Linked DNA regions of Homo sapiens: all the other regions are linked to region 1. The links are contacts of gene promoters, found by promoter capture Hi-C in blood cells and fetal thymus (Javierre and others, 2016). All regions are on one chromosome and are shown on one strand. Each heading gives the region's core, a stretch centred on a gene start or on the middle of the fragment in contact. The rest is flanking DNA. Distances are from core to core; before and after follow the strand shown.

Region 1 (5,688 bases), core at 1,375-3,874:
CTGCATTCCAGCCTGGGTGACAGAGCAAGACTCCATCTGAAGAAGAAGAAGAAAGAAGAAGAAGAAGGAGAAGGAAGAAAGAAGAAGAAATAAATTACCAGACAGGGAAAGGAAAAGAGCAAAAAAAAAGTCCACAAACTCAGTTCCTAAGAATAGTTCCCGTTCCTACCAAAGTAGAAAAACCACATAATTCACTTTGGGTATGGGGTAAGGAACTTTGAAGGGTACTGTCTTAGTAGTGGGATACAATTAACCCTACATAAATGACTGAATTGGTTCCACCTAAAAAAAATCAAAACCCAAAAGAACAAAATTGTTTTTCAAGTAAGTAAATTTTACAAAGTCTAGCATCTTGTTAAAAAAAAAAAAATTTCCAGGCATGCAAGAAGCAGGAAATTATGAACTGTAATGAAGAGAAAAATCAATCAATAGAAACTATGCCAGAAATAGCATAGATCATAGAATTAGTAGACAAGGATATTAAAACTGTCATTATAATTGTAGTCTATGTGTTTAAGAAGCTGCAGAAAAGTTGAGCATGTTAAGACATAAAAGATGTAAGACACACACCCACACCCAAATCAAACTGGTAGAGGCAACAACTACAATGTTTTATATGAAGAATGAACTGGACAGGATTTCAATATTAGATATTGAAAAAAGATTAATGAATATGAAAACATAGCAATTATCCAAAAGGAAACATAAAGAAAATCTTGAAAAAAAAATGAACAGAGCGTCACTGAGCTGTGAGACAATGCCAGTTAGTTCAATATACATGTATATTATGTACATGCACATGACTCCAATAGTCACACCAAAGGAGAGGAGCAAGAGAATGGAAAGAAAAAATATTTGAAGAAATAAGGGCAATGTTTGCATTTGTCTTGCTCTACCTGGTATTCCTATCAAGGCACCTGGTATATATTAGGTGTTTAATAAACATTTCTTGAACACATTTGCAGCAAAAAAAAATGACAACGAGTAAGAGATAAGCACCTGAGTGTTACTGCAACGTATTTAGGCCATCAGAGGACAAAAAAGGGGAATAATATGGAGAAAAGGCTTGGTAGAAGTGGCATGCCTTCAGCAGGGACCCACGAAATGGGTTCAACTGAGTGTGTACAAAGTTTGGAGACTAGGAAGGGATGAAGAAGGGCATTCCACACAAGAACAACACAAATGAAGATTTGGAGCCTGGCACAGTGGCCCACGCCTGTAATCCCAGCACTTCGGGAGGCCAAAGCAGGAGGACTGCTTGAGCTCAGGAGTTTGAGACCAGCCTGGGCAACATAGCAAGACCCCCATCTCTACTAAAAATTTAAAAATTTGCCAGGCATGGTGGTGCTTGCCTGTAGTCCTCGCTACTGGCAAGACTGAGACAGGAGGCTCTCTTGAGCTGTGATTGCACCACTGCACTCCAGTCTGGACAACAGAGAGAAACTCTGTCTCTAAAACAAACAAAAAGACTTGGAATCAGGAATAAATATGGTTGAAACTATACTATCTGGACTGAAGTGGTGGTTGCACTTAGTGGTAATGAGAAATGAAGTTAGTTGGATGAGTTAGGGTCAGAGTATGCAAGGCTTTAGAAATAGGAAACAGGAGAGAAACCATTGAAAGTTTCTGAACAGAACTTGTGATGATGAAATCAGAATTCAAGGGGAGAAAAAGGAGCATAGTGGTGGCATCCATGATGGATTTGGAGAAGAAAATACTAAAGGTGAATGGAAAGGGTGGACCAGGGGCAAACAGGTTATTAAAACAGTCCCATCATGAAGTGTTGAAATGCTGGATGTAAACACACCTACCACAGTATCAGTACAGACTAAGGGCTTGGATAAATGTTAGTCAAATCCAAGTACTAAAATTCTTCTTGGTTCGCGAAAATTTCAGAAGTGGCTCAAAAATCTGTAATGCATTAAGAATATTATTTGCTTCACAATATTTCATTTACTTAAGATTTTATAAGAATCAGCTGCTTATAAAATTGTTACTTTGTGGTGCACCAAAGCACCTTGTTCTCTCCCTCACCCAGATATGTTTCATGCTCTTTGTACTTTCCACCCCTTAACAGATTTGGAGGGAAGATTCAAGCCGTGGATTTTTAAATTTAAAGCAATGCTGTCACAAATTGAGAACTGACAACATGTCATTACACATTTAATTGCCACCGAATCCCAGAGTTTAAAAATTGTAAGGACCTAAGAGATAGGACCTCTCGTTGTACAGATGCGGAAACTGAGGCTGAGAGAGGGTAAGTGAACAGTCCCAGGTCACAGAGCTGCTAATGGGCAAGGTGGGACTAGAATCCAGGCTTGACTCCTCTACGCTGAGCCAAGGGTTCGAAGCGATTGGGATAAGGGAAGCCTGAGGCAGGGAACGAGAGTCAGGAAAGCAGCTCTTCCCAACCCTAGGAGGCCGGGGGACCTCGTCACCGCGGAAGGAGCGGAGCCAGGCCGACCTAAAAAGCCGCAAGTCCAGGTACCCTTACCCTGATGGCCGCGGCGACACACTCGGCCACCTTCCTGATCTCGCGATACTAGCCGGTACTCACTTTTCCGGCTTCCCCTAGGCCCCGCCCCCCCACCTCAGCCCTTCTGTCGTCATTTCCTGTGGGTCTGTAGGTTAAGGGAGAAGATGGCGGCGCTAGGGGAACCCGTGCGGCTGGAGAGAGGTGAGTGCAGCCGAGGCTCGGCGGAGGTGGGCGGAAGGGTTGGGGGAGTGCTGTGTCGCTGGAGGGGAGGAGGAGTGACCCAGGCTCTGAGATCCGGGCCACGCTGTCCCTTGTGCCGGCGCCAGAGGCCGCCGTTGTCTCTGTGCCTGGCTCTAGGAAGGGCGCTTACGGTATTTTGTCTGTTAACCGTAAGCCCTCCTCTGTTCACACGGACTGTTCCAAGGCACAGCACAACTAAACACAACCTGCCCGCTTCGCAGACACACGCCGCACACGCGCTCCCTTGGTGAGCACAGCAGAAGCAGCATTCGGAGACCCGTACACCCGAAAAGCAAACGTCACACACCCGGTTCGCACAGACTACACTCATTGCCTGTACAGCACGAGAACGGACACACGGTACAATTCAACAGAACCTCCTTTCCCCGCTGTTTGCACACAAACTCCTTCATTACTTTCTCCACAACCTCGCTTGTATTCGGGTTGGGGTATTTGCTAGCTTTTGTGCCCCTCCTAGAAATGGAGAGGTTGCTTTAAAAACAATCCTACTGACTTGGTCTTGGGAAGGAGGTTACGTAAGTAAGCCGAATAGTGGTAGATGCTAAAACACTTGCAGGTGCAGTGTTTTTCATTTCTTACAAACCCTACAATTGCAAACTGGTTGGCTGATTGCTTCCTAGAGCAGACTGTCAAGGAAAATAAAACCACCTCTGCTGAGTAATTAGAGATAGAGAAGCCTACGAAAATAACTGGCTATGCGCCTACCATGATTTCCAGCATTCCAGCGTTTCCAGTCCTTTTACAGATTTCCAGCATTCCACTCTGTCCCTAAGTCCTTTATTTCAAACAATTTCAAGCATGCTTTTCATACACCAGCATTAGAAATCATTGATAGGAATTGAGAAGTACAAATAAACATTTTGAGTACTGGTGGTAAAAAAAAATGTATATGTAGGATGGAGACTGAAATTATATTGCACATATTAACATTTGCAATTAGTCTAAATATTACTATTGTTCCCTAAGAAAACACATTTTTAGAATTACTGTACTTAGAAAAACCTCTTTCCTAATGCCTTCCCACAAACAAATGTGCACTTAATGTTGCTGATTTGCTCTTTACCGTGTTCACCATTTGGAAGCCTCACTGTAAATGAGATTGTTTCCGTTAAGCCTATTAAAGCATCATTTTAGAGGACTAGCTACTCTGGGAAGACTTGCCGAGTTAGGCCTAAGTCTCTGACATCTTCCTCTTGAGCACAGTGGCACTGTGTTTTATAGATGGGAGCAAATCTGTTTGGTGTTAACAGGAGTAAGTTTTTTCTTTGAAAGCTAGTTAAGATTCTAACGTATTGGTCTTTTGTGTTTTTGTTGTTGCTGTTTGGAGACGTAGTCTTGCTCTGTCGCCCAGGCTGGAGTGCAGTGGCGCGATCTCGGCTCACTGCAACCTCTGCCTCCCGGGTTCAAGCAATTCTCCTGCCTCAGCCTCCCGAGTAGCTGGGACTGCAGGCGAACGCCGCCAAACCCGGCTGTTTTTTGTATTTTAGTAGAGACGGGGTTTCACCGTGTTGCCCAGGCTGGTCTCGAACTCTTGAGCTTAGGAAGTCCGCCCGCCTCGGCTTCCCAAAGTGCTAGGATTACAGGCGTGAGCCACTGCACCCGGCCGGTCTTTGTATTTTTAAATGCAACACAAAATGTGGAACTTCTGTGGCATTTAGTTTTGATAGTCTTGGCTTTGTTTTTTGCTGTTACAGATTTCTTTTCTGTTCTTCAGTAGAAGACTCCACCTCTTAGTAGGATGAATTACAGTCAGCCCTCCATATCCATGGGTTCCATATTTCAACCAACTGCAGATTGAAAATACTCAGAAAAAAATCGTGTCTGTATAGAACATGTACAGACATTTTTTTCTTGTCCTTATTCCCTAAACAATGTGATATAACAACTGTTTACGTAGCGTCAGATATTGTAAGTAATCTAGAGATTATTTAAAGTATAGAGGGGGGATATGCATAGGTTTTATGCCAATACTATATCATTTTATATCAGAGACTTGAGCATCTGCAGATCTTGATATCTGTGGTATCTGAAGAAGGTCCTAATGAATCCCCCACTGTTACCAAGACAGCTGTACTAGTGGTTGCCATTTAGCAGGGTAAGAAAGTCAGATTACATCACCTCTGATTCTTGTTTAGAATTCTAACAGACTCTATTAACAAACACTCCCAACGATCCTAAAGTAGAAAATCCTACAGTACAATTACAATACAGTGCCTGATCACATATGATGATTTAGAGTGCCTTCTAAATCATCAAACTATGATTTAATGAAACACAAATTTGAGCACATAGTAGGTACATTTTAGATTTAGTCAAAAGCATTTTACTTTTTTCCATTTTTTTCTTCACTGGAAATTTTTATATGGCTTATATATTATAACTTTATAAATCAAAATAATTGATGAACCAACAGTCCCCATGTATCGGTCATTCTGGTGATGGGAAATCAGAATGGTGAAGGTCTATTTGCTTCCATTGCATTTGATTAACTTTTTAAGTTTAAGCTTTCTTTACCTCAAATTTAAAAATCTGCTTTCTGGCCAGGCGCAGTGGCTCACGCCTGTAATCCCAGCACTTTGGGAGGCCGAGGCAAGCAGATCACTTGAGGTCAGGAGTTTGAGACTAGCCTGGCCAACATGGTGAAACCCTGTCTCTACTAAAAATACAAAAATTAGCTGGGCCTGGTGGCAGGTACCTGTAGTCCCAGCTACTCGGGAGACTGAGGCACGAGAATCACTTGAACCCTGGAGGCAGAGGTTGCAGTGAGCCAAGATCGTACCACTGCACCCCAGCCTCAGCAACAGAGGGAGACTCCATCTCAAATAAATAAATAAATAATCTTTCTGCCAGGTGTGATGGCCCAAGCCTGTAATCCCAGCACCTTGGGAAGCTGAGGTGGGTGGATCATGAAGTCAGGAGTTTGAGGCCAGCCTGACCAACAGGGTGAAACC
Region 2 (5,688 bases), core at 2,352-4,851, 4.9 Mb after region 1:
TTGGTGGGAATCCAAACCAGTACAGCCTCTATGGAAAAGGATACTACCTTACCCTGGCCAGAATGGTCATTATTAAAAAGTCAAAAAACAATAGATGCTGGCACGGATGTGGTGAAAAGGCAATGCTTATACACTGTTGGTGGGAATGCAAACCAGTATAACCTCTATGGAAAACAGTATGGAGACGTCTCAAAGAACTAAATGTAGAGCTACATTTGATCCAGCAATCCCACTACTGAGTATCTACCCCAAAGAAAAGAAGTCATTATATCAGAAAGACACTTGCATGTATATGTTTATCACAGCATAATTCACAATTGCAAAGATACGGAACCAACATAAGGGCCCATCAATTGAAAAGTGGATAAAAAAGTTATATATATATATACACACATGCATACATACATACACACACACACACACATACCATGGAATACTACTCAGCCATAAAAAGAATGAAATAATATATTTTGCAGCCACTTGGGTGGAACTGGAGGCCATTATTCTAAGTGAAGTAACTCAGGAATGGAAAACCTAACACTGCATGTTCTCACTTGGAAGTGGGAGCTAAGCTATGGGTATGCAAAGGCAGACAGAGTGGTATAATGGACACTGGAAACTTGGAAGCAGGGGAGGTGGGATGGGGTGAGGGATAAAAATCTACATGTTGGGTACAACGTACACTACTCAGTTAGAGGGTGAACTAAAATCTCAGGCTTCACCACACTGAAATTCATCCAAGTAACCAAAATCCACTTGTACCCTTAAAGCTATTGAAATAAAAAAAAAATTCTGTTAAAGCAATGAAAAGACGACAAGAAAGTTTTATGAGCTACAATATTTGAAAACTTCACCAAAGAACAGAAAAAAATCAAAATAAATAAATAAAAATAAAATCTGCTGAAATTTGGCCTTTTTCTTTCCCAATTTACTGTATCCCAGGAATTTGGGGATCAAAACCAAGAGGAGGGAGATTGTTCCTGGTATTCATGGCACACAGTACACACATTTGTGTTCTCATATATTTTACCTTATATTATTTCTCTCACTTGGATTTTCTTCTGTCCCATGATTGTTCAAACACTTTGAGGCCTAAATCAAGTATCAGTCCTCTGTAGTCTTCCCAGAACTCTCCTGTCAGTTTCTATCTAGTCTCTCATAGCAAAATTCTTAAAATTTTCAAAATATATAAAATCTGCTTTGCATTATAATTAAGTTTTTGTATCCCTCCCCACCCTGCCTCAAGAATATAGGTTGAAATGCTAGGCTTTTCTTTCTTTAGAGGGGGAAACTTCATAGACATTTTATTTAATGAAAATAGACTAATCTGAAATATGTAGGAGTTTATACGTTACTATGCTCAAGGAAGAATTTAAAATCAAGATTTAAACAGATAAGTAGAAAGGTATGAAGCTAAAGTTAATCTGCATAATTCTTGCCATACACTGTCATCCCCATTCTGAATCAAAGCTTTTTTGGATTTTTTCCACCTCCTTAAATAGGCCTGGTTCTTTCAACTCAGATACCTGCAAAAAAAATTAAGGATTCCTGTAGCCTTGAAGGCTCCTCTGAACACTCAGCTTTGAACTTTCAACTGAAAAGTTGGTTTCTTTTCCTTTTTTTTTCCATTTTCCTTTTTTTTTTTTTTTGAGATGGAGTCTTGCTGTGTCACCCAGGCAGGAGTGCAGTGGCCCGATCTCAGCTCACTGTAACCTTCACCTCCCGGGTTCAAGCTATTCTCCTGCCTTAACCTCCCGATTAGCTAGGATCACAGGTGTGCACCGCCATGCCCAGCTAATTTTTTTGTTTGTTTGTTTAGTAGAGACAGAGTTTTGCCATATTGGCCAGGCTGGTCTGGAACTCCTGACCCCAGGTAATCCACCCGCCTGGCCTCAGCCCCACAAAGTGCTGGGATTACAGGCATAAGCCACTGCCTCCGGCCTGAAAAGTCAGTAATTAAAGAGACCTTCCTATCCCCTAAGACTTGGTGACCCCACTCAATTTCATCCTACTATCACATTTGAGGTTATTCATTTAATGTCTCTCTTAAATGGTACAAGATGAACTTCTCCACTCATGCTAGGACTGCATTTATTTTACTACTAAATCTGTAGCACCTCATACTATGTATCATAATAGGTGTTAAATATAAGAATAAATAAATGAATTAGTGATGCCTGTACATTTGCTAAAGGCAGGCTGCACACTTGGTTCTAAGTTTGTAGTAGCCAAGAAAAAGAATTTTAAGATTCATAGTATCCTTAGGATAAAATAAAATAACGATTTCAGGACCAAGTAAGAGTTTGAGATAACTAATAAAAATCAAATAATAGCCGGGCGCGGTGGCACACGCCTCTAATCCCAGCACTTTGGGAGGCCGAGGCGGGAGGATCACTTGAGGTCAGAAGTTCGAGACCAGCCTGACCAATAAGGTGAAATCCCATCTCTACTAAAAATACAAAAATTGGCCGCGCCTGGGCGACAGAATGAGACTCCGTTTCAAAATAAATAAATAAATGCATAAATCTGAATTAACAGCATGCACATCACTGCTTTACTTTCTAAAAGGTGTAGGAATGCTTATTTTAATAAATGAAAAATGACTCTTCCCCTCTTTTAAATTTGTTTCTCTTCCCCTTTTTGTTAAAGTACAAAACAAAACACCTTCCCCCACTTTTCGAATAGTTTTGGCTGTGTCTTTAGGACTGGAAGGAAATTCAGCTCAAATGAATTACTATATTATGAACTTAAGTAAGAATTGTTGTGCATTTTGTACAGAATGCAACTCCTAGGAGTTGACAAATGTTTGTTAAGTGCATCAGTGAGCGACATAGGACCTTCTCCTCCCTACTCTCTTGTCACGGTTTTTATTTAATCAAACATTTATTATTGTTCGATGCTCTTAAATGCCATTTCCTTCAGCTGATTATTTGTATGACAGAAGAGTCAATTAAGCTATTTTGTCCTAAAAATTACGAAAACGAAATGTACAATTGTGAAGTAAAATTTTGTTCCTTTGCAAATTTTAATAAATTATTGAAGTTTATTTTTTGTTTCAAATAATCTGGGCTTCAGTTCTAATAATGGAAGGACAATGTGAAGGCCCAGAATTCAGCATAGCGCCTGGCATTAATAGGAGGTCAGTACATTTTTAGTACATGTTTCTCAAATAGATCTTAAAATTTCATTTAAGAGCGTTTCCTCACGTCACAGTATGTCTCTGGCGTTACTTAATTTTGAAAAACCTCAACACAGATTCTAGTTTTAGGCAAAGCTCAGAAAATTTCTACTTAAGGATATTTCCAAAGCGAAAGGAAGCGCGGAGACGTTCATGACTGGCATCATCTCGCACGTGGTTCCGGAAATTCTCGGTAGGATGCCCTACATCTGCTCTCCCTCCACTAAGAAGAACCTCTTTGTGTGGCGAAAGTAAAAGTATTAGGGCTTTTAAGTTGCCCAGAGTCAAGGAACACGGATAAAGACGCTGGGAGATTGACATGCATTTCGACCAATAGCATTGCAGAGAGGCGTATCATTTCGCGGATGTTCCAATCAGTACGCAGAGAGTCGCCGTCTCCAAGGTGAAAGCGGAAGTAGGGCCTTCGCGCACCTCATGGAATCCCTTCTGCAGCACCTGGATCGCTTTTCCGAGCTTCTGGCGGTCTCAAGCACTACCTACGTCAGCACCTGGGACCCCGCCACCGTGCGCCGGGCCTTGCAGTGGGCGCGCTACCTGCGCCACATCCATCGGCGCTTTGGTCGGCATGGCCCCATTCGCACGGCTCTGGAGCGGCGGCTGCACAACCAGTGGAGGCAAGAGGGCGGCTTTGGGCGGGGTCCAGTTCCGGGATTAGCGAACTTCCAGGCCCTCGGTCACTGTGACGTCCTGCTCTCTCTGCGCCTGCTGGAGAACCGGGCCCTCGGGGATGCAGCTCGTTACCACCTGGTGCAGCAACTCTTTCCCGGCCCGGGCGTCCGGGACGCCGATGAGGAGACACTCCAAGAGAGCCTGGCCCGCCTTGCCCGCCGGCGGTCTGCGGTGCACATGCTGCGCTTCAATGGCTATAGAGAGAACCCAAATCTCCAGGAGGACTCTCTGATGAAGACCCAGGCGGAGCTGCTGCTGGAGCGTCTGCAGGAGGTGGGGAAGGCCGAAGCGGAGCGTCCCGCCAGGTTTCTCAGCAGCCTGTGGGAGCGCTTGCCTCAGAACAACTTCCTGAAGGTGATAGCGGTGGCGCTGTTGCAGCCGCCTTTGTCTCGTCGGCCCCAAGAAGAGTTGGAACCCGGCATCCACAAATCACCTGGAGAGGGGAGCCAAGTGCTAGTCCACTGGCTTCTGGGGAATTCGGAAGTCTTTGCTGCCTTTTGTCGCGCCCTCCCAGCCGGGCTTTTGACTTTAGTGACTAGCCGCCACCCAGCGCTGTCTCCTGTCTATCTGGGTCTGCTAACAGACTGGGGTCAACGTTTGCACTATGACCTTCAGAAAGGCATTTGGGTTGGAACTGAGTCCCAAGATGTGCCCTGGGAGGAGTTGCACAATAGGTTTCAAAGCCTCTGTCAGGCCCCTCCACCTCTGAAAGATAAAGTTCTAACTGCCCTGGAGACCTGTAAAGCGCAGGATGGAGATTTTGAAGTACCTGGTCTTAGCATCTGGACAGACCTCTTATTAGCTCTTCGTAGTGGTGCATTTAGGAAAAGACAAGTTTTGGGTCTCAGCGCAGGCCTCAGTTCTGTATAGGCAATGCTGTGTTATTACTTGAATATAGAATATATAGTTTACAAAATGAAAATTACAATGTTCTCACCAAATATATGCCTTCGTGTGTCCAAAGTATAATTATTTTAGATGCTAATTTTGAATAGTTTATTAAACAGTTATAAATATGCAAAGTAGCTGGCATGTAGTGTCACGGATTTTCTGGATAGAGGAAGTGATTGGAAGTACTCCACTTAAAGCCATGGAATTAGCAATAGTTTGCTTTTTAATAGAAGGCCCATTTGTAAGAATGTTGAAAATATGTGTACCGTTTAAAGAAAAAGCAGCTTTAAAGTGACAAACAAAATACCCTTTTTCTTTTAGTATGGTTTATTTTTCTAGGTTTTCTGTCCCTCCCTCAGTAGTGAAGAGTTTTCTTTATTCCTGGCAGTGTCAGGAATATTGGTTTGAAAAGCTGTTGGCCTATCTGGAGTTTGGCCTTGTTAACCTAGTATTCTAACCAGTTAACCAGCCTTAGTATGCATTAAAATTGTATTGTTCAGAAAGTTTGTTTCTCATTTTCTGCAAATTCTTACTTTGAAAATGAATCACCACATAGTATGTCCCTTTAAAGCATTGACGCACAGACAAATGTTTAAAGCACAGTAAATACGAATATATGCCTTTGGATATTAAATTAATGCTTGATGATAAAAGAATCAAACTTTTTTTTTTTTGAGATGGAGTCTCGCTCTGTCACCCAGACTGGAGTGCAGTGGTGTGATCACTGCTCAGTGCAACCTCTGCCTCCCAGGATCAAGCAATTCTGACTCAGCCTCCCAAGTAGCTGGGATTACAGGCGCAGGCCACCATGCCCGGCTAATTTTTTGTATTTTTAGTAGAGACGGGGTTTCACCATGCTGGCCAGGCTGGTCTCAAACACCTGACCTTGTGATCCGTCCGCCTTGGCCTCCCAAAGTGCTGGGATTACA
Region 3 (5,688 bases), core at 1,670-4,169, 4.7 Mb after region 1:
AATTTTCTCCTGAAATGTATTATCAGAAAATTTTGAAATAGTTTAAAAGCATGAGTAGTAAATATTGGAAGTAATACCAATTTATTTTAACATTTATTGGAATCAATTAGCTTTTTTCCCCAAAATGAAATAATAGATTTATTATTTTAACACTATATATATTTTAATACTCTTATGCTTACTACTAATCTTAAATAATTCAAAAATTCAAGCAATATGGAGAAGTATAAAGAAGTGTAAAAGTCATCCAAACTAAGTACCATTTTGACAGACATAATTTCTAACCTTCATTTATATATCTTATTAAATTGGATTACGCTATAAGTTCTGTTTTATGGCCTGAGCTCTTTTACGCATTGATTTGGAATCTTTGATCTTTCCATTGCCCCTGTTTATTATAGTTATGTAAATGTTAATTTGGATTACAGAATGTATACAGGTGTGGGTATCATACACATACCTCCCTAGATATGGATCCCAGAGCTAGACACTGGGAATATAATGGTGGACAAGTTAAGCAGAGTCTCTGAATGCTGGAGTCTTTACACTCTAGCAGGACTTTAAAGGATTTATTTTTAAAATCCCTTAAAGCTCAGGAAAATAATGGCTCAGATATTAAGAATTTATTCTTGGTCCATTTTTAAAGTAAATAGTAGTATATTTGTGAAAAGGACAATGTCTTTAATTTCAGTCATTTATATTTAACTTGTCAATGATTTATGAGTACCTTTCAACAGATTTATTGGTTTTTTTTCTCTCAAAACTACACACACACACACATGCACATACATATACATGGACATATACACATACACTTGCCTACATGTAGATACTCTCGTAACTTGTGGGGCAGGCAGTTTATGAACACCCTGAGCAGTTGATTCTGGCTCAAGAATATCACAGAAATAAGAATGTGTGTCTGTGTATTTTACTATTGTACGTTACTTCATCTTATATCATTTAACGAATGAAAATTTATGAAGTTTTTTTATGGTGAACTTTTAGCAATATATAATTAGTTTCAATATAAGGTAAATAAGTCTGACCATTTTGCTTATGTTTTTTATAATTCCATAATAGAACAGAATAGGTCTAGTGTAAAGTAAAACAGTTGGGTGATAACGAGGTCAATTCTTTATCATATCTCAATATTCTGTTGAGATAAAGTGCTGTTTCACTAGGTTTACTTCATATAGGGTTGTCAAAAACAAACACAAAATTACAAAAGTTAAATTGTAGGACTGGAAATAATGAGATCCACTATTTCACAGTAGAAGTGGTGAAGGTATTAAGTTAAAGTCATACGTAATGTTATAGGAAAAGGATAATTTAATCAACACTTAATCATAATTAAGAAGACACTTCACAAGTTCTAACCTAATGAAATTAACATCAGCTTTTAAAGTATAATAAAGAAAGAGGCTTTCTTAAACTTGAAGCTTCCACACTCTGAAGTCTATAGATTAAAAAAAAAATTTAGGCCTTATATTACTTACAATCCATTCAAAAGTGCTCAAAATGTAAAACATACCCAAAGTTAAATTTAGTTTCTGTTTTTCTTTGTGTACTGTTCTTGTAAGAAATCTCTCAAACTCACTTAGTAAAAATGACCTTCAGGACCTTGAAACTATATAGTGGCAGGAGGATTTTCTCCAGTGGCTCACTGTCATTAGCCACTGCTGTTGTCCACTGTGAGTAATTTTTCCTTGGAATATTCCTCATCACCTACCACTACCACACTAGCTTCAAGTGGCATGCTCCATTCTGCTTGACACATGCACAACATGTCAAGAGCATGAAGTGAAAAAATTCTGGAAGGCTCAGGGATAACAGAAGGGAAAAATACAAGGCAGAAGTACTTAACCCTCAAAACGCTTGGCCTATGGTCCTTTAATGGCTGCTGTCTGGCTTGTTTCATGGGCTGGCCTGAAGTATTGGTAGAGTCTTCCTAAGGTAGGAAGGTTAGGAAGACTCTTCCCTAGGTAGAGTCTTTCTGACCTGACTCTACCTAGAGTATGAGTCTAGTTTGCATTCCCTGTCTTCATGCCTTTCACCTATTCATCTCCTGACCAGTGCTGCATCTTTCCAGGGTAATTAGCATGGGTAATGCTGTCTTCTGACTTCTTACCTGAAGAAGTCAATGTGATGATGGCATCAGGATGCAAAGTACTATCAGTACAGGATATAGCAGCACGGGAGTAAGGGTAGACCTCTAGTACAATGGCTTTCCACCTTAGCTGCATGTTGGAGTTTCATAGGCAGCTTTCAAAAAGGATTGTTCATTGGGCTCCACCTCACACCAGTCAGTCTCTGAGAGTAGGGTTTAGCCATCAGGACTGTTTTAAGCTTCCCAAGGTAATCTAATGTGAACCCAGATTGAGAATCACTATCCTAGCGTTTATAACACTTGTCCTAAGAGAGATGTTTTGGAAGATAGAGTCCCATGGGAATAAATGTTTAAAAATGCTAAATTGTATATTGTAGACTATATCCCCTTCTTAGAGACTAAAAAAGGCACAGAATTATGGCCTCTAAGAAATTGTACAATGAAGAAAAGCAAGTTTACTTGGATTAATCTTTAATGTTGAAAATTTATTTAAACATAGATTTTATATATATATGTGTGTATATATATACGTATATATATACATATATATATACGTATATATATGTGTATATATATATATATGTGTGTGTGTATATATATATATAAAACACCCAATAATATTCCTTGGATGTACTTGGAAAACACTATCAAGAGATTGCCAAATATCTCTGGTTCTATCCTAATGGCTCTTCAGGACCTATCACAGATTTAATAGACTTCATTAAACAAAGGGGCAAATGGAATATTTTCTTAACTCAAGAAGGAAAAGACCTTGCCAAACCATTTTTTAATGGTTTCTGCCATTTCTTGACTCCCTGGCTCAAACAAGAATTTTTAAATTTTTGTTTTGTTGTGTTTTATTTTGTGTTCCTTTACTGATTATTGGATATTTAGGCTCTTGCTACTGAATAGCAGGTTCACTGTGCAGTGGTTACCAACTTCAGAGTCCAGTGGACAGAATACTCATGCATGTAACATTTGCATGAAGAGGCTGAGCACAGTCACTCACACGTGTAATCTCAGCTGTGAGAGGAAGGCTTTGGGAGGCTGAGAAGATGGGATGATCACTTGAGGTCAGGAGTTAAGAGACCAGCCTGGGCAACATAGCGAGACCCTGTCTCTACAAAAATAAAAAATAAATTAGGTGTGGTGGCATGTGCCTGTGGTCCTAGCTTTTCGGGAGGCTGAGGTGGGAGAATGACTTGAGCCTGCGAGGTTAAGGCTGCAGTGAGCCATTCCCACCTCACCCCAGCCTGGGCGATAGAGTGAGACCCTGTCTCAAGAAAATCCCAAAACAAAACCAAAAACATTTAACGTGGAGTGAGTTTATTACTTACAGATTGGCAACAAGGGACAACAGAAGCCTAGGATTCATTATAAGCTTGTCTCCCAAGGAAAACTGCCTGGGGTTGATGACATCTGTGTGTGCCCCACTTGAACCTCAGATGAGTGCCCTGGGTTTTATGACCTGGGGGTTAGAAGGGGAGGTACTACATGACTCCTTGGGCTAAAGCATTGAAGGACGTCCTGTCTTTAGGGAGGGACTGGAACAGAACTTGAGCTGTCCTTGGCCATTCATTTGCTATCCCAGGATGTTACATTCCCAGCACATTCTACAGTTACTCTTGAAAACTACAGGCAAGACAGTGAGACAGAGCTATCCTGCAACTACCCACCAATCTGACCAGATATTTTGTCTTCTTTATGCTTTTAAACTATCATCTTATTTCAGGCTTTGGACTATAATGTAAAATTTTATGAATAGCTGCTATTCAGAAAAATCATTTTGTATTTCTATGTCCCATATTCCTCTTTTTACCTGTTTGTTCACTGAAGTACTGTTATATAACTTCAAGTAAAATTTACTTTTCTGTCTCTTTTTTATCTTTTCTAGTGGACAGTTTCATAAAGCATAACATGAGTAGAAGAATCTACTGCCAATAACTGTTTATTATCTGCAATCAAGTGGGCTTCATCAATTTAATTTCTTCTCTTTGAGTAAATGAAGATTCAGACTTTGTAATATTATTGCCCTTAAGTGCAATGCTAAAAAAACGTTGATTTTCAAGCTTAGAGAATGGCTAGACTTTTCATTAAATACTGATTTTCCTACATTTGCTCTTCTGCAGTTAGTGGGTGATTTGCTATTTTTCTTAGTAGTTAAAAAATGGAACTAAATAGTGAATATACATACACTGCATGTAAACATTCTGCATATACCTCTAAGATTAAAATTCGCAGTTGTCTTTTCATCCTTTATAAAATGATCTAACTACTTATATTTGTGCTGCATCGCGTTACATCTGTTTTTATTTCACTATGAAGATGTTTGATTAAACTTATGGACTTAGTGCCTTTAAACTGATCATCAGGGAGAATCTTGAAAAAATCATTTGAAGGGCTGATGTGAAGGAGCACTGTAAATTTTTATAACTTAGTAATGAGTATTCTTAGGCAGATGTAAAATTTTTTCCAATTTATTTTTATTTATGTAGCTTATAAAATTAACATACCCTGTTTTACTTTATGATAAAGGATTTTTTGTTTGCTGAATTTAAAATTATATATTAGTGATACCATCAGAGGGCAGTGATGTTCTATTGTATATTAAATTCAGCTCTGTAAGGATCTTTGTAGTAATTGAATGAGTTAAACTAATAATCTGGATGGGTTATAATGAGTAGTAATATATTTGTCCATATTTCATAAGTAGTGTTAATCTTGTGTACTTATTAGAGAACGATCATAAGATTTATACAGATGTGAAACTGCGAAGGCAAGTATGAATGTATGAAAAAAACATGTAGGTACTGTACTTACAAAAGGTCTACTTCAGATATAAAAATATTAGGTAATTCTATACAATGCATAGTCATAAACCTTAACATTTTTGTTCATTAGAAACATGAATTTTATAGCATTTTTTGTTTCTCCTATATAATACACTGAAATAAAAGAATTTGTGTTAGCTATTAAGGCTGATAGCTCTTTTAAATGGCAAGGCCACATGTTGAGCCCTAAATTAAAATTTGCAGATATTAAGTGCTAATAGAAATTTTAAGTTAAATCGACCAAGTTCACTTGCTTTACACAAAGGAAACTGAGCCACTATCTTCATCTACCCCTCCAACAAAAATTATGTTATACTGCAGTGTATTGTACATGTTAATTTTTAAAAGTTTGAACTATTATATAATACAGGTCTCTTGACTTCTCATGGAAAAATTATTTTTTCTATTATGGTGTGAAATATTGTGTGAATATCTAGGCAAAACATAACAATTTGGCTCAATTTTCTTCTTTAGAGGATTCGTGCTGTTTTTGTTCATAAAGGGTAGTGAAATCATTGAACTATATTTTAGAATGAAAATTTTTGATTTTATTAAAATGATTTTTTCAAGGCAGAAAGTAAAAGGAATGATTGATAGCGGAGTGCATATAGAGCTAGAGCATATCATCCTTGAACTCTGCAAATCCTTTCTTCCATTTTAATATAGCAAGAACAATTTTGTCTTTACTACATCTTAAAGAATTAGAACTTGGGTTGGTGTAAGTGACTTACTTCCAGGGAATCATGCCCT
Region 4 (5,688 bases), core at 2,766-5,265, 4.0 Mb before region 1:
TTGTCATACAGAAAAACTTAGTAACAAAAGTTCCTTTGATAGGTTGGGCACGGTGGCTCACACCTGCAATCCCAGCACTTTGGAAGGCCGAGGCAGGCAGATCACATAAGCTCAGGTGTTCGAGACCATCCTGGCCAACAAGGTGAAACCCTGTTAGCCAGATGTGGTGGCCCGCTCCTGTAATCCCAGCTATTCGGGGGAGCTGAGGCAGGAGAATCACTTGAACCCAGGAGTCATAGGTTGCAGTGAGTTGAGATCATGCCACTGCACTCCAACCTGGGCCACATAGCAAGACTCTGTCTCAAAAAAAAAAAAAGTTCCTTTGATAGTGTTTATTTTTTGCCTTGCAAAAAAGCATAACTATTATGTGTTAAACAGTTTGAAATCTGGTAACATACATGCGCCTAGAATAATATGCAACATGAGACTTGTGCTAAGCGATTTACAGTGAGGCTAAACATCAATTTCATGACAATATGTAGAACATTTCAAACTCTTAGGGAAGGAAATAATGAAAAAACCTAGTATATTTAAATGTTTTAATGTTTAAGTTTATATATTTACAAGACTTTATATTTTAAGTTCACATTCAGACAGGTTCCTTCATATAGCATTTAAAGTCGCAACAGACTACATAGGATAACTTTTATCTTCAGATGAAAAGATAAACATAAGCTGAAATGTACATCATGATAGCCATCAAAAAGGATCAGGTCCGGGTGCAGTGGCTCACGGCTATAATCCCAGCATTTTGGAAGGCCAAGGTGAGCAGATCACTTCAGCTCAAGAGTTTGAGACAAGCCTGGACAAAATGGCAAAACTCCATCTCTACAAAAAATACAAAAATTAGCAAGGCGTGCTGCCACCTGTAGTCCCAGCTACTTGGGGAGCTGTGGAAGGAGGATCAATTGAGCATGGGAAGTTATGGCTGCAGTGAGCAGCGTTCGCACCACTGCACTCCAGCCAGGGTAACAATGTGAGACCCAGTCTCAAACAAACAAATGGATCAGAACAAAGGGTTTGCTTTGGGATAAGATTAGACTAAATGTTTAATTTCATAGTGCCACACTAATGTTATAATTCATTTGAACATCTTATATCACACTTCCTTACTTTCCTACTTTCCCTTAAATGCAGAAATAAACATTTAATTACCCAATAGCCTTTTTCTGTACATATAAGGAGATGAATTGATATAAGCATACAAGAGACATTATGGTGTCTAAGCTAGAGCAGGCACTATTAAAAAGTTTCTTACTTTAACCTATTTCCTATAGGGAGGATTTAGGTTTCTTATCTAACCTCCTGAGTTACACTTACATCTCCTCAAATAAGGAATTTATATAAGGCCTCCACTGGGACAGACAGAGAAGCAAAGATTTTTTATTTTTTGAGACCGAGTCTTGCTATGTCCTCCAGGCTGGAGTGCAGTGGTGCAATCTCAGCTCACTGCAAGCTCCGCCTCCTGGTTTCACCCCCCATTCTCCTGCCTCTGCCTCCCAAGTAACTGGGACTACAGGCACCTCCCACTACACCCGGCAAATTTTTTTGTATTTTTAGTAGCGACGGGGTTTCACCGTGTTAGCCAGGATGGTCTCAATCTCCTGACCTCGTGATCCGCCCGCCTCGGCCTCCCAATGTGCTGGGATTACAGGCGTGAGCCACTGCGCCCAGCCAGAAGTAAAGATTTTTTAACATTCACTATGGGACAATGAGAACAGATCACATAACAGTTTTCCAATTACATGAAGTGATTACCAAGTAGAGGTATCTGGCCCAGAAAGGTACTCAGAAAGAGCTACCTTTACCATTTTGGCAATTCCTTTTTTTTGTGGGGGGTGGGGACAGGGTGTCGCTGTGTTGCTCAGACTGGAGTGCAGTGGTGCAATCATGGTTCACTGCAGCTCGAACCTCCCAGGCTCAAGGGTCCTCCCATCTCAGCCTCTGAAATAGTTGGGATTATAGGAACATGTAACCATGACTGGCTAATTCTTTTTCTTTTTTAATTCTTTGATTCTTTGTAGAGATGGGGTCTCACTATATTGCCCAGGCTGGTTTTGAACTCCTGGGCTCAAACTAGCCTCCAGCCTTGGCCTCCCAAAGTGTTGAGATTACAGGCATGAGTGACCACATAACCTAAAAAATCTTATGTGTATTAAAATTCTAATGTTTAGAAAATTTGAACATTAAGACATAATGGGGACATATTAAAATCATTTTTATCACCAAATATCTTCTCAAACTTCTTTTACAAAAAGGTAAGAAGGTTCTATCATGTAAATTCACTAGATTCACATTTAGATTGGCTGTAGTAAAGTTTGGTCACTGTGAAGGATAGTTGTGGGGAATAAGATGTAACTCATTAACTAATTTAAACTTATTAACTAAAGCTTTTAAAAATCAAGCTTTTACTCTATGTGTTTTAAGAGGAATAATTTGGACCTATACATATATATATATATATATATATACACACACACACACACACACACACACACACACATGCATACAGCAGCAAAATTTCTCTATTCTTCTAAACTTGAGTTTAGTGAGACATGATCTCAAAACATTTCCACAAGATACCTTTGTATAAGGTATTTTGATGTCTCTTACTTGATAAATGGAAGGTCTAGCTGTATTTTAACTTAAAAGTTTGAATGTTTGTAGCCATGCTCCAACCAAAAAATAAATAAATAAAAAGCTAAAACAACCAACCAATCACAACAGAGTATCCTGACATATTCTTTGAAGGCTGGCTTTTAATTTACTTTTAAATTTAGTAATCCATTAGTAATTTTATCTAATTCCAAAAGCAACATAGACCTCACACTAATAGTTACCAATTAAAACTGAAATATCTTTTCCCAATACAATGTATTACAGATAAGTAATAGGGTAAGCAAACAATCATCTTATTTTTATAATGAAAACAGGCAAGAAAGTAGTAAAACGGCCTTGTTTACTATTTCCTCTCCCCTTTCATCCTAACTTAGAAAAATTACCAACACACTTTCTAAGTCACTAAGCAAAATAAATTCTTCTTTTTTTGAGATGGGGTCTCACTGTCACCCAGGCTGGAGTATAGTGGTGTGATCACTGCTCACTGCAGACTTGAACTCCCCAGGCTCAGGGCTTCTCCCCCATCAGCCTCCTGAGTAGCTGGGACTACAGGTGTGCACCACCAAGCTTGGGTGATTTTTGTATTTTCTGAAGAGCCAGGGTCTCTCTATGTTGCCCAGGCTTGTCTCAAACTCCCAGGCTCAAGCAATCCACCCATCTTGGCTTCCCAAAGTGCTGGGATTATAAGTGTGAGCTACCACACCTGGCCAGCAAATAAACTCTTGTTTTTACTTCTAGATGTCTTTAAGATGTATACTTATTTCCATCTTACTAAAAATAAAAGTAGAGTACTTTATGTACACAAAAGAATACAAGAGGTTGAAAGGTTAAAGAATCATGACTACTCTTCAATAATTATGACACAATTATTGGCTGGGCAAACATGAGAATCAAAATAAAGGTTTGAAAGGTTAAAGATACTCAGCAAGCTTGATATTTTAGACAATTAATTTCATCAAGATTTCACATATTTTAAAAATAGGCATTTTTTCTTAAAACCAGAAAAGATATTTAATACTTAAGAAATAATATTAGAAAATTTAAGATCTTGCAAATGCCAGTATCTTCCACGATTTTCAAAATCATAAGACAACGAAAGGGCTTTTGTTGTTATTTCAATTCATGCAGTAGTAAGACAATTACATTAGTACTATTAATATTTTAAAGGAACAACATTCAATCCCCATACTCTCCCCAATAGAAACCTCTGACTAAGCTATACATTTTGGGTAAATGAGGTCAAATTAATACACTAGAATATGAAAGCCTTTCTTCAATGTTAGAGAAAGTAAAAGGGAAAAGAAATGAAAGTCAAGAAAGATAACAGTGATTTATGCCAGTCCTTTCCAGACCTCTATATAAAGGAATAATTTTGCTTAAAATTACAAAAAAGTATTTCTGGGAAAATGCAATGTAAAAAACAAGTTCATATTCTTTCCTTGGTTCATAGTAATAGCCTTAACTACTTAATTAATGCTGGATCTCAAATTTAATTGCAGTTATTTTGATAACAACTCTACTTTTTCTTCCCCAAGCATTATAAAACATAGTGACTACTCTTCATTATGACACAATTATTAGCTGGACAAACATGAGAATCAAAATAAAGCTAGGAACTGTGAATAGTTCTATAGATTAAGTCACATGAAATAATTTTACATAGCAATAAAAAATACATTTTTCTTAAATATACAGCTAATTATATTGGTTGGTAAAATATCATAACCAAGATTGTGTTAAATATGTAGTCCAAGCTCAATGTATATTATCCCATGCTACACATTAACATAATAAAGGAAATAAGCCCACTAGTGTTTACTTTTTGACATCAATGTTAAAAAATGGCTGTTACCATTAAGCTTCTTTCAGGGTACTCTTCCTAGACTATTATTTACCTCAAATCCCTATCTGACATTCCCTTCACTATCAAAATTTAACAGCACAGAGGTCAAATCTGCAGTTACCCTTCCTTTAAGCATTTTTCTGGAGGATGAAGTTGTGGTTAATTCTTCCAGGTTAGATATATGGTTCTATGATGGAGTATATACCTTTTACAGGGAATGGGGTTGGGTGGGCGGGGCGGGGGAGGGGGGGCGGAGGGCAGGGGGCATTTCTGCCAGAATTCTTTAGTTGCTATAATCTTTCTTTGGAAACCCCTGGAAGAGAAATGGAGTACCTCTTCAATCGATGGAATATCTATCTTTCCTTTTCCAAAATATAAGTGTTATTTACATACAGTGTCCTCAAATAACAATATAAATATCCCAGAAGGGCAAGGTTGAGAACATGGGTTAGATAATCTGGGAATTTAAACAATTTTAATGTAGCTAACTTGGGAAATGTATATCAATATCTCATAATACAATTAGGTTGTCAGAACAAAAACATTATATATTAGGTCATTTGAAAAATGCAGATATTGAAAATTTTCAAATTCATGAAATGCTTTGGAATAAGTAATGGAATTATCAGTGTATCATCAAATGACTAACAATTAGCATGTATGATGCCTTTCAAATATATTTTGCATCCATGTTTAAAATTACAATGACGTCACGGTGGCAGTAGTAAAATGTCACCGTACTACACGGAAGCTATAATATTTACTTGTTACACAGTAACCACATAATATATTCAGGCAATAATCACAATATTACAGTATAGTTTTACCGTTCTAACACCATAACATCCTATTATCATTACCTTTTGTCACAATATAGTCATATTAGGCTTGTCGCAACTTGAGTCAAATAACATTTTCAAGTAATAACATAGTCTAAACTGCTTATACAGAAAATCAGATACAAAAATGTCATTAAGAGGTTAAAACTAAAATACTTCTGGACATATTTATTTTTCAAGATGTAGTCAATTCTATTATAACCTCTTCAACTTTTGTGCACTTTGAGAATTCACTGCATACATGCAAAATATATTTCAAAGTATTCAACAACCAATACTGTTTCTACCATCTTAATGAACAGTAATTTTTAGCATAAGCTTGTTACACTTAAATACCCTACTCGAGTCTCCCATTCCAAGCAAATACGGAAACTTTAAAAATTACTG
Region 5 (5,688 bases), core at 785-3,284, 3.9 Mb before region 1:
TAAAAAAAAGAATTTTATAATGAACCAGGTGGTGTATGAACCTCTAAGAAGGTATTTCTGCTAGTCTTATGATAAAACTGGCACACAAGTAAGCACCCACTAAACACGCTGGAGGAGCTTAATGAATATTTACAAAATGAACGAATAAAAAAAAAGCAAAACAGAACATCAAAGAATTAAAATAAATTTGGGGGCATTCCTTCTGAAAGTTTCTCGTTTGCTTTTCCTCCAGATTGTCTGGAGAGCATGATATGGGAAATAACGTCAGCACCAGCTGGTAGAGAACAAGAGTCCCCTGTTATTGGAGAGGCGCTGAGACCTCGCAAAGACAGAGTGAAACTCTCTACGCGAGGATGCCCCAGTCTTCCACGCTCCAGAAGAGAGACCCTACCAGGAGCCCCAGAAATCAGGCAACCTCTTCCCACAGCTATATACACTTAACGAAACAGCCGGGGCCTCCTCAAGCTCGGGACTTGGGAATCTTCTCCATTCACAGTCGGCTTTACCCACCCAGCCATTGGCGGGCACCCTCTCCGCGCTTTATACGACATCAGACCTACCTAACTTCACATAGGCGCTGCTACCCACTCCTCGCCTGCTGTCGGCCAGAACTCCGGACCGGCTTCTTCTTCCGCCGGAAGTCACTGTTCCGACGTGTTCGCGTTTCTGGCCGAGCTGATGTGGCCGTGGCACAGCTCAGAAGCGACGCTCCGCCCACCCCGACGCGGTCTCTATGGTAACCGGTCACCGCTTCTATGGAGTGGCGTTTACTACCAGTAAGTTCCCAAACTGTGAAGAAAGGCGCCTTTGGCTTCGCTCTAAGTCTCTCTTTTCCGGGCCCCGCGACTGTCGCTTCTCTCCTCCTCCTCAGCGAGCACCCCCTCGCCATCCCAGGCTTTCCCCGCCTTTTTCAAAGCTTCCTCCGTTTACCGTACCCTGAGCTACTCTCAATCTTTTCGGTTGGTGCTTGAACTCTGGGGTGAGAGAGGGGTGCGGGGGCAAGGATGTGAGAAGGATGAGGAGACCTGATGCCACTCTCGTCCCTACAGTTCCTTTACAATGTTCTAATTCGAAAATTAAAAGAACTAAAACCTATGCCAGGTAGGGCTAGATGTGCGGGGGATGGGGTCGGTTTAATTTTTTCTGCAGAAGATATTCGACGTAATTATTAATATTTCTTTTAGACCTTAGCAACCAACTTACAACATAAAAACGTTCCAAAATTCTTTCACATTTGCTATTTCACTTCGCTTTCATTTCAACCCAGTGAGACAAGTAAGGCAGGTGCCATTATTCCCACTTTATAGATGAGGAAAGAAATCAAGGATCAAGGCCAAACAGCTAGTTGGGTAGGGGCAGAACAAGGACTCAGCAAGTCTACACATTCCCAGGGCAGCTATGCTATCTTTCAAGCTTACAGAAAAAAGCAGAATGAACTGTTCTTCTTCGAAGCAGTTAGGGGGCACTGCATATGGGCACTGTTGGGGTTTGTTATTGTTGCTGGTGGTGGTGGTGGTGGTGGTGGTGGTGTTTTTCTCACCTTTCTTTCTTCTCCCTTTCTTGATTCCTGTGTTTCCTTTTATTACTTCTTTGTGCTGCTTACTTTACATTAACACCTCTTCCTAGCATTGTACCTGGAGATGAAAACTACATCTTATTTTTGGCCAGCATGACATAAATTTCACTTGGAGATGTTAAAATGGTTTTGTTGTTACTGCTTTGATTTTGCTTTCCTTCTTTTTTAAACTTCTACCAATCTGAGTTTGAGAAGCAGTCAAGATAAACTTAAGCAGAATAAATAAAATAATCTAATATGATCAGTTATTTAATGATGTTATGAACTATAAAGAATAACTGAATGAAACAAGCAAGTTTAAAAATCTAAAGATGAAAGCATAGATTAGGTTCTCCACAGGGTTTTGTCATGTTTAAAGGCAGATACAAAGAGCATCTGGTTTTAGTCCTGGCTGCATCATACTTTCTTGTGTGGCCTCATGAAAATACCTAAAGCAATGGAATTAAGTAGTGTGGTGAATGCTTTTCTAAACAGTACTGTCAGAATGATGCCACCTTGAACATCTCTAGCCCTCAAACTCCCTTCTGTCCACAGCTTGGTTCTTCCTTGTGTAGGTAGATATGCTCCGGTACTCCAGGTTTTTTGTTTTTTACAGCAAAAGCATTTTATTTTGATTTACTATTTATTAGGTTATTGTGTTACCTTATTTATTTATTGGGGTTTGGAAAGTAAGAAATAGTTTTTTTCCCCAGCAATACCAAATATTTTGTCATTTCATCTCTACATACTTTAGTTTGCATCCCTAAAATGTACCAACTTTTTCTTTTATCTCCATAATGTCATTATTGGACTGTCACATAATATCTAGACCTTACTTACATTTCCACGGTTAATTGAAAATGTCTTTTTCTGGTTGGTTTGCTTGACTCAGAATCAGACAAAATGTACACTTTCCATTTAGCTGTTCTGTCTCTTAAATATCTTTTAAATTATAGCAGTCCCATTTCTTCACTAGAACCTTGTTTTTTTCTTTACTTGCCATTGGCTTACTGAATGAGAACAGTTGTCTTACACTCTGCTTATACCAAAATAAACTTCTTAAAACAATTTTTACATAAATTTCTGATCATTAAGCTTCCTTCATTTTTCATTTTATAGAGCAGTACTTTCCAATAGAAATATAATGTAAGCCGTAAGTGCAAGCTACAAAATTAATTAATCTAAAAATTATTAAGGCGATACTTTACATTCTTTTCTCCTACTAAGTCTTCAAAAGCTGGTATGTATTGTGCCCGAACACACCTCAATTTGAACTAGCACATTTCAAATGCTCAGTAGCCACATGTGACTAGTGGCTACTGTATCCAGCAGGGCAGGTCTAGAGAATAAAGTCCTAACTCCTTAACCTAGCATTCAAGTTACCTCTTCAATATGATCCTTACTTTTCCAACCTCCCCTATTATCTCCATACATTAAACATTTAAACAATTGGATCTTTTCATGGTACTGAAATCAACCCAACAGTCCCATAGACAGGGTTTTGTTTGTTTGTTTAGTTTTGTTTATTGGGGTTTTTTAAATTAATAAACATAGAAATGGACACTTCTTTTCTGAAAGCTTGAAACTTGCATTTGTTTTATCTTTTTGTTTGCTTGTTTGAGACAGAGTCTTGCCCTGGTGTCCAGTCTGGAGTGCAGTGGCATGATCTCAGCTCACTGCAGCCTCTACCTCCCAGGCTCAAGTCATCTGCCCACCTCAGATTCCCAAGTAGTTGGGACCACAGGTGCATGCCACTATGCCTGGCTAATGTTTGTATTTTTTTTTGTAGAGATGGAGTTTCACCATGTTGGCCAGGCTGGTCTGGAACTCTTGAGCTCAAGCAATCTGCCTGCCTCAGCCTCCCAAAGTGCTGAGATTACAGGCATGCGCCACTGCGCCCAGCCACATTTTGTTGATCTTTATCTCAGTTCCTTCCTCAAGAAAGGATGCCCAGACCTCTCAACAAGTATCAAAGAGCTGAAACTCACCAGATTACTGCATCTAGACAGTGATATGCCAGACCCCTCATTCTTCGTTATTGTTTCCTTACCCTTCCTTAGTTCCTGTTTTCTCATACGTAGTTAACATTTCTTCCCTGTTATATAAACCCCTAATTTTAGTCAGTGAGGAAGGTGAATTTGACACTGATGTCCCATCTCCTTGGCTGCAGCATCTGATTAAAGCCTTCTTCTTTGACAATAATCATTGTCTCAGTGATTGACTTTTTGGGTGGTAAGCAGCAAGACATAGATGGAACTCCTGGTGTTTTGGTAACAGCATTTCATCAATAATTGTGTTCAAATGCTTCTCCTTACTTATAACACCCTAATTCTTTTCTTCCTCCTATCAGAGTAATCCCTGCTTTAAGGCCTATCTCTTCCATCAAGCCTTTTATGATGGCCTGGTCCTTAGAACTTACTGCCGCCCCTCAACTTTCATAGCAAGTCCTTTGTATATCACAGTATATTGTTTTCCTTAGAATATATTCTGATTCCCCAGTTGGGTTGCAAGCTTTCTGAGAGCAAGAACACCTCTCCAGAGAAACTAAGAACCAGCTATCTTGCCTCATTCTCTGGAGTTCTAATGATACATAGCTCTAATAGTTTTGTTTCTCAGTATCTTATATTTAAAAGGCAATTTATCCATTTTATGTGAAACTTACATAGTGGAAATATAAACTATGTTAGTATCATGGTTAAAAGCATGAACTCTAGAGTCAGAACATATGTGTTTAGTCCAGGCTTTTCCTCTTACGGCTATGTGAACTTAATTCATCTCTTTGCTTTGGTTTCTTCCTCTGTAATATGGGAGTAATAATAGTATTTCCCTCATAGATTTGTTGTGGGAATTAAATGAGATAGTTGTGCCTGAAAGTAATAAGTATTCAGTAAAGGTTAGCTATTGTTGTTATTATTAATTAATAATATTTGTTGCACATTTGATATATTAGAATGTTGGACATTCATAACAGTATTTTAGGAATTTCCAAAGAGAGCAAATGACAGCAAGAAACAATTGAATTGGAAAAATAAAATCAAACCCAAATATTTGTTGAACTGTACATTTGGTTGGACTTCAGAATAAATTAAAAGGATAGGCAAAACTTTAGTTTGCGTCATCAGCATCTAACATAACCAAGGTAGGCGTATATTAAATATTTGATTCCCAGATGATTGATCAAGTGCTATAGATGTAGCTAGATACATCAGGAGTTTAAGATCCTTTGTCATGATGATAGGAAAAAATGACATTGTTATTAAATCTATCACTTTGGTACACGCCTGCCCGTAAACTAACGTCTACCAGACATTCACAAATTCTTAATTTGATGTCATACTAGTCAATTGTGCTTCTCATTGATGGATAATAATGGAAATCTATATCTATATTATATAGATGTATACATATAGTGTACTTCTGCTAATTATTTCCTATTCAGGATTATATTTACTTGGCTCTTTTGGTAGTTCCATCACCAACTATTCCTTCATTTCCTTGATTTTTATTTCTGAATTTTAGGATTTTTATACCAGTGAACTAAGCTGTATTTAAGTACCATGGGATATGATGGTTATGTTCCAAAATTGAATGATTGTCTCTAGAGCAACTTATAATCTACTGGGAAGATAGAAAAACCACCAAAAACTAGCTAGTTATTTGATTTTTAAAAGTCAATGATATATATACAGCCTTCATTCACCTATTGACTCAATCGACAAATATTTGTTGAGTGTCTCTTATGTACCCCACACTCCGTTAGTTACAAGAGACACAAAACAAAGTTGACTGTAGTCCTGTCAAAAGCTTAGTTTATCTGGGTAAACAGACATTTAAAAAGGAACTGAAATAACTGTAGGAAGTACTATGCCAGAGGAAATACCAGGTGCTGTGACATTAATTAATAACTTGCAGGTATACTAATACGTAGAATAGATTACTTGAATGATTAAAATCCTTGAATCAAGATGAAGCTAATCCAGGAAGATGTATGAAATGTTAAGTTTTAAATAGTGTTTTGAAGGAAGGGAGAGGTGAATGACTAGGATGAAAGAAACTTCCTTTCTTCTTTTTTTTTTTTTTGACAGATTAACATAAAGCTTTAGATAGTATTGAGAATCAGCTCTAATGAATAA

The links. The method cuts DNA at HindIII sites, captures the fragments that hold promoters and counts their contacts. A CHiCAGO score of 5 or more calls a contact.
Region 2: the fragment with the promoter of FANCF here is called in contact with the fragment with the promoter of LIN7C in region 1 in 1 of 17 cell types (non-activated CD4 T cells); the score reaches 7.3 in non-activated CD4 T cells.
Region 3: a fragment that was not itself captured here is called in contact with the fragment with the promoter of LIN7C in region 1 in 4 of 17 cell types (naive CD8 T cells, non-activated CD4 T cells, total CD8 T cells and 1 more); the score reaches 13.6 in naive CD8 T cells.
Region 4: a fragment that was not itself captured here is called in contact with the fragment with the promoter of LIN7C in region 1 in 2 of 17 cell types (total B cells and naive CD4 T cells); the score reaches 6.2 in total B cells.
Region 5: a contact is called between a fragment that was not itself captured here and the fragment with the promoter of LIN7C in region 1, in 1 of 17 cell types (activated CD4 T cells). The highest score is 5.6, in activated CD4 T cells.

What each region holds. Positions count from the first base shown.
Region 1 is chr11:27,503,705-27,509,392 of GRCh38, reverse strand. It overlaps LIN7C (lin-7 cell polarity scaffold C), which reads left to right and starts at 2,624. Exons shown (of 5, transcript NM_018362.4): 1 at 2,624-2,677. The coding sequence starts at 2,641. BDNF-AS (BDNF antisense RNA) reads right to left here and starts at 2,541. Exons shown (of 7, transcript NR_033315.1): 1 at 2,495-2,541. RefSeq lists enhancers at 2,218-2,507, 2,578-2,707, 1,864-3,063. The HindIII fragment of the contact is 9,378 bases long and covers 1-5,243 here.
Region 2 is chr11:22,623,736-22,629,423 of GRCh38, reverse strand. It overlaps FANCF (FA complementation group F), which reads left to right and starts at 3,601. Exons shown (of 1, transcript NM_022725.4): 1 at 3,601-5,688. The coding sequence starts at 3,614. The coding sequence ends at 4,738. It also overlaps a transcript of GAS2 not described here. RefSeq lists enhancers at 3,622-3,811, 3,138-4,037, 3,902-4,111, 4,492-4,541, 4,552-4,711. The HindIII fragment of the contact is 15,033 bases long and covers 1,473-5,688 here.
Region 3 is chr11:22,821,447-22,827,134 of GRCh38, reverse strand. It overlaps SVIP (small VCP interacting protein), which reads left to right. Exons shown (of 4, transcript NM_148893.3): 4 at 4,002-5,688. The coding sequence ends at 4,016. Among named protein-coding and RNA genes, the nearest start is that of LINC02718, 5.1 kb to the left of the region's middle. The HindIII fragment of the contact is 1,142 bases long and covers 2,349-3,490 here.
Region 4 is chr11:31,511,817-31,517,504 of GRCh38, reverse strand. All of the region lies in intron 1 of ELP4 (elongator acetyltransferase complex subunit 4), which reads right to left. Among named protein-coding and RNA genes, the nearest start is that of ELP4, 4.9 kb to the right of the region's middle. The HindIII fragment of the contact is 930 bases long and covers 3,551-4,480 here.
Region 5 is chr11:31,364,785-31,370,472 of GRCh38, reverse strand. DCDC1 (doublecortin domain containing 1) reads left to right here and starts at 734. Exons shown (of 39, transcript NM_001387274.1): 1 at 734-776. DNAJC24 (DnaJ heat shock protein family (Hsp40) member C24) reads right to left here and starts at 613. Exons shown (of 5, transcript NM_181706.5): 1 at 561-613. RefSeq lists an enhancer at 321-800. The HindIII fragment of the contact is 1,237 bases long and covers 1,416-2,652 here.